Regions from separate parts of the Homo sapiens genome. Here region 2 is linked to region 1. The links are contacts of gene promoters, found by promoter capture Hi-C in blood cells and fetal thymus (Javierre and others, 2016). All regions are on one chromosome and are shown on one strand. Each heading gives the region's core, a stretch centred on a gene start or on the middle of the fragment in contact. The rest is flanking DNA. Distances are from core to core; before and after follow the strand shown. Region 1 holds the start of PLSCR4 (phospholipid scramblase 4). Region 2 has its middle 36 kb from the start of PLSCR2.

Evidence for each region. Contacts are between HindIII fragments. The CHiCAGO score rates a contact against its expected background, and 5 or more counts as called.
Region 2: a contact is called between a fragment that was not itself captured here and the fragment with the promoter of PLSCR4 in region 1, in 1 of 17 cell types (erythroblasts). The highest score is 5.4, in erythroblasts.

Annotation. Positions count from the first base shown.
Region 1 is chr3:146,249,372-146,252,526 of GRCh38, forward strand. PLSCR4 (phospholipid scramblase 4) reads right to left here and starts at 1,734. Exons shown (of 9, transcript NM_020353.3): 1 at 1,589-1,734. The HindIII fragment of the contact is 7,000 bases long and covers 1-2,781 here.
Region 2 is chr3:146,503,973-146,507,127 of GRCh38, forward strand. No RefSeq gene overlaps it. Among named protein-coding and RNA genes, the nearest start is that of PLSCR2, 36 kb to the left of the region's middle. RefSeq lists enhancers at 1-467, 105-154, 2,779-3,155. The HindIII fragment of the contact is 421 bases long and covers 1,348-1,768 here.

The DNA.
Region 1 (3,155 bases), core at 484-2,983:
CCTGCTTGTCCAAGTACATTCAATTAAATGTTATTTCTTCTTCCCACCCAGTGATTTAAAATGTATGCTTATCAAATGCCAGCTTTCCTTTTATTCTTCCATGTCTCTTCAGTTTCATTTACACATCTGGTAGTAGGTCTACTGCACTGTCTTTTAATCACCACAGTTTTGTAACACCTTTTATTATATGAAGAAGTCTCCACTATATATATGTGTGTATGTATAATATTAAATGTTAAAATCATATATAATATATAAAATAAGACATAATTATATATTTTGTATTTTATTATTTGTAATATATTATACATAACGTTAATATGTTTGTTCTTCCACATGAGCTAAACAGTACAGTTAAAAACAGTAACAAAAATATTCAGTTAGGATTCTACTTATACGTTGTTTTAGAGAAATGATATCTTTACCTAGAAGAATGTTATGTATTTTATTGGATTCTCATACATACCTTTTTATATCTTCTTAAAAATAATTTCTCAATTGTGTGTTATTTCATGCCAAACTGAATTTTACTTTATTTTACTGTATTATCTAGTTTATGTATAAACATCAACTGACTTCTATAAATTAAGTATGATGCAATTGGAAACTTTGATAAATTCACTTATGCTTCCCATCAAATTTCAGTGTTTCCTATGGACATTAAGGTATACACTCACATCATGCATAAAGTGATAATATGTTCCCCTACCTGTTGTCACTCGCCCATAGAATTCACAACCATGTCACAGAGTGTAATGATTAGCATTCTTGTCTTTTTCAAATTTAATGGAAATGCTGCTAGTATTTCACAGCTATCCATGAGAGCAGATAGACAGATGGAGGTTGTGTTCTATTACTATTACAGGAGAATGCAATTTAAATTAGGCAATCTATTCCCCTTTAAGCAGTATCAAGTTTGGTGCATTATATCTTCACAAGTACTTATTTTGGTGGCTCCATTCTAAATGCAGTATAAAATTAAAAACTAAATTGTAGATCCTAAGAGAAGATAAGGCCACAAAATAAAATCCTAAGTCTTTAAATATGAACGTTTTTAAAAACAAATCAAGCACAGCCCCAAATCGCCCCAGTTTGCCAGAATTGGAAATAAGAGAGAGGGATTCTCTCCTGTCACCGCCTCCACTCGCTGAGCAATTAAAAAGTTACTATAAATAGCGTTTTTACCTGCGAGTGGCCTGGCCTGAGTCCGTGAGAGCCGCGCCGTAGAAACGCCAGAGACCCATGAGAAACCCAATCAAGCGAGACCTGTCACGCAGAGCGAAACGAAAGGGCCGCCCCCGTGAAGTGCAGCCAGGACCCCCATCCCTGGGCAGGAAACTGCTCGCTCCCAAACCCTCTGCGTCTGCAGTGCAGACGCGCGCCCGACACCACGGAACTTCTGCAACCACCTGAGGATGCGACGCGAGCGCAGTGTCCGGGAACTGCTAGCGCAGGACGCCGCGCAACCTCCGCGCCTGCCCGCAGGCACCGCGGCCTCGGGCCTCCCCTGACGACGCCCTCGGCCCCGCAGCCCGGGCGCCCGCGCCACCCTGTCCTGCTCTGCGCCCGCCTGTCCAGCCCCACTCACCGCCTGCCCCGCAGAATGCTGGGCACCGGGGACGCCAGACGCCGGGTCTAGTTGTACTGGCAGAGGAAAGGGAAAGGAAAGGAGGCAGGGAAGGGAGACGGAGAGGATTTTTCAAGTTATAAACAAAGTAAGCGCGCGGAAGGGAGGGCTAGGCGCGGGTTCTGGGGGCGGGTCCGGCACGCCTGGACCCTCCTTCCCCGCGCGCGGCTTCCCCGTCTCGGACCCCGCCCCGCGCTGGGAGAGCCGCCAGCCCGGGGGAGCGTCTTCCTGGAAGAGGTGGGGCACCCTGAAGTCCGCTGAAACCTAAAAGCCGAGGGGGAGGAAGAAATGAAGAAAATAAGTTGTCACTACTCTAATAAGAGGTGAAAGAAAAGATAAAAGCCAGCCCACGGTCACTTCCAATCAGAGGGGCAGGTTGCAGGGCCTGGGAAAGGGAGCTTTGTTCATAGATTACTGCGCCTAGAGAGAAAATGAAGAAACCCCTCTTTCTCAAGAGCCTTTTTTATTTTTTTATTTTTATTTTTGATACGGAGTCTCACTCTGTCGCCCAGGCTGGAGTGCAGTGGCGCGATCTCGGCTCACTGCAAGCTCCGCCTCCCAGGTTCAGGCCATTCTCCTGCCTCAGCCTCCCTAGCAGCTGGGACTACAGGCGCCCGCCACCACGCCCGGCTAATTTTTTGTATTTTTTACTAGAGACGGGGTTTCACCGTGTTAGCCAGGATGGTTTCGATCTCCTGACCTCGTGATCCGCCCGCCTCGGCCTCCAAAAGTGCTGGGATTACAGGCGTGAGCCACTGCACCCGGCCTCAAGAGCCTTTTTGATTTGCATTTGCGCCCACCCCCAGGTCCTTGGCTTGGTGATTTAGCCTTGGCAATGCCGTGCTGGCTGGAAACACTTGGGCATAGGGCCCAGAAATTCTGTTTTCTTTTCCACAGAATTGGGGGAGGCCAATTTGATCTTGGAGGGAAGGCGGGAGAGACGCCAATAAAGGGGAAAGGGAGCAGGTTGCCCATGTTTTCTGACATTGGGAGAAAAATGCCATTTGCTTATTACTGTTAGGCACAAATATTTCTTTCAGACCAATGGGATTCAGTTCTGTGGTGGTGCTTGGAGAGAAGCACAATACACTGACAGGAAGTGGGAGAACTGAAGGTCCTCTGACCTTATAAAGAATCAGAACTGGACAGAAGTAAGCTTGATTAAGCTCTGAGGAGTACTTGGCAGAACCCCATTGTGGGAGAAGGTTGGAAAGGGGAAGGGATGTGGGAGTGGAGTTCTAGAATTTTATATTTTTCTTTGTATGTGTGTTATTTGTTAATATTCATGTGAGAATAGATTAAAAAATTCATACTGTTCTTCTCAGTAATAATTGCACAGAACATTTCTCAGATGCAGACATAGTGTTTTACTGAAAGCATAAAACAAAGAAACTGGTGGTGAAACTAAATTATAATAGCATATGTTACTGTTGGGAGCAAGCCCCCCAAAATCTGGCCATAAACTGGCCCCAAGACTGGCCATAAACAAAATCTCTGCAGCACTGTAACATGTTCATAATGGCCCTAA
Region 2 (3,155 bases), core at 308-2,807, 250 kb after region 1:
GCTGTAACTGAAACTTAAGCCCAGCTTGGCCAGACACCCACTACATTCTTACCTCCCTGTACTCTTGTGGGCTCAAGACTGAGTCTCGCTCTGTCGCCCAAGATGGAGTGCAGTGGCGCCATCTCGGCTCATTGCAAGCTCTGCCTCCCGGGGTTCACGCCATTCTCCTGCCTCAGCCTCCCGGGTAGCTGGCACTACAGGCACCCGCCACCACACCTGGCTAATTTTTTTGTATTTTTAGTAGAGACGGGGTTTCACCGTGGTAGCCAGGATGGTGGCGATCTCCTGACCTCGTGATCCGCACCGCCTCAGCCTCCCAAAGTGCTGGGATTACAGGCGTGAGCCACCGAGCACGGCCGAATGCAAACATTCTTGATTCTCCTTCATTTCCCTCCTTGTTTTTTGTCTTTCTGACTGTATTCTCTTTGATAGTGTATTTAATATTTACTCAGTTGAATTAAGCTTATTTTAATTTACTTGTAAGTTAAGTTGATAACTTTCCCTAGTTTTGTTACTGGAAAGGGGTCCTGATCTAGACCCCAGGAGAAGAGTTCTTGGACCTCACTCAAGAAAGAATTAGAGGCAAGCCTATAGACTAAAGTGAAAGCAAGTTTATTAAGAAAGTAAAGGAATAAAACAATGGCTACTCCATAGATAGAGCAGTGGCATGGGCTACTTGACTTAGTATGCTTATAGTTATTTATCAATTATATCTCAACAAGGGGTGGATTATTCATGAGTTTCCTGGGAAAGAGGCGGGTAATTCCCAGAACTGAGAGTTCCTTCCCTTTTTTTATCACATAGGGTAACTTCCAGACATTTCCATGGCATTTGTAAACTGTCATGGTGCTGGTGGGGTCTTTTAGTATGCTAATGCATTATAATTAGCATATAATGAGCAGTGAGGAAGGCCAGAGATCACTTTCCTTGACATCTTGGTTTTGGTGGGTTTTGGCTGGCTTCTTTACCACGACCTGTTTTATGATCAAGGTCTTTGTGACTTGTGTCTTGAGCTACCTCCTGTGTCTTCCTTTGACTAAGAATGCCTAACCTCCTGGGAATGCAGCCCTGTAGGTCTCAGACTTACTTTATCCAGCCCCTATTCACAATAGAATTGCTCTGGTTCAAAGGCCTCTGACAGTCTCATATCACAGTGACTCTCCCACCTGCATCAATTCGTCCTATAAAGCATTACTTATTTAGGCACCACTTATATTAGGTAAGTATGTAAAATAAAAAAGTATTCTACAAATTATATAAACCAGTCATTTGTTAGGCCCACAAAACTTCAATACTTAACACTTACCCTTACAACTTCAGCTTTGTATCTTTTTTCTTCTATTAAAAAGCTTTAAAATCAAGTGGTTTTAAAACATGCACAGTGTAGCCTAAAATATTTTACATAAAATTAAAAAAATGTTGAGTAGGAAATGTATTTTAATTACAAAATTAGATACATCTTTAAAGTCTTATTTTGACTCCCATATTTCTTCTTTACCACAATATAACTTGCTTGTTTACAAACAAAACCAAAATTACTAAATAAATAATATATAGCTGTTAAAATACTAAAGGCTGATCTATTTTATCAGGATATTAAATTAACTCTGTGTCTTGCTCCTTCCTTTTGCCTGTTTTATGTTCCATCAATAAATTGCAGCTGTTTAAGGGGACCAGACCAGAATAACATTCAAGAGGAAATAAGCTGTCAGGAATATTTGAAGGGAATTGTTTATACAAAAATATTGAGCAACAGAATAGGAGAGTAAGCTTGGAAACAGATCCATAAATCTATGAAAAGTGGATGGCTGGCAAAAGTAGCAATACAAATCAGTAGAAAAGATGAACTCTTTGCTGTTATTGGAGCGATTAGCTGTTTGTATACAATAAAATTAGATATCTACTCATATATTAAAAAGTTCCAAATGGAGTAATGACCTATCTATGAAAAATAAACCTTCAAAACAAAAGAAAAAAAATACAAACCTTGAAAAAATGATATGATTTAAAATTTCTCTAGACAACAAAAATATTATTTCACAAATAAAGTGAATTAAAAGCCATATCCTGAGAGAAGATATTTACAATGCCTACAAACTTATAAAAGATTTGGTTGCATAAAAAGAAACTTCTACAAATTAATAAGAAAGTTGACAGCAAACAAATACAAAAATTACTAAAGTGTGCAAAAAGATGATTCACATTAGAGGAAACATGAACATCTAATTTTAACAAATGAAAACATACTCAACCTCACAATTTCATGCAGATGAAAACAAGAATGAGATTCCCAATTAAAAATATTGGGAATTCACCAAAACAAAACATAACCCAACAATACCAGATCTGATGGGGGATGTAAAGCTGTAGTGATGGTCATACACTGGTGTTTAGACAATAAATTGGTATGATTTATTTGGAGAGCAATATTACAATATTTCATAATGATGTTTAGACCCTTAGAAGCAGCAATTTTACTCATAAGGATAATCATAAATGCTTTTTTTGACATGAGCACAAGGATACATGTACAGAAATATTCATTGAAGTTGATTATAGAGGAAAGAGGAAAGTTGGCATATTATTCAGGGTTCTCCAGAGAAAGAGAACCAATAGGGGTAAAAAAAGTGAATATATACCGTGTGTGTGTGTGTGTGTGTGTGTGTGTGTGTGTGTGTGTAAACAAAAATTGTGGGAGGTCATTGTTTTGGAGTGAGCTCACGCACTAGACTCCAACAAACCAGATTAAACCACAATAGAGTCACTCATGCCAAATGTTACACAATCATACTGAAACTTTAAGGAAACAGACAGATCCCAAGCAGACCATTTTTTTCCCCTGAAAACAGGAAATTTCAATCTGATTGAGTCAGCATAATAAGGAAGTCCCTCTGCTTTAACCCTTACAAAAAAGTAACCTGAAGTAATCTGATGTTAACCAATCATTTTTTTTTAATTGTGCCATTTCCTCATTCCCACCTTACAAGGCCCATTGTTCTTTTATTGTCTAGTCAATGAGAATGATGAGACTTTATTTCCTGGTGATATTTGTAAGTTGGCCTACAATAAGAGGAGTCACAACAGCCTTCAATTACATTGCTATCCTTTCTGTTTACCAGGAGCCACAGGCCACCTGTGGATTGAGTAGCTGGAGA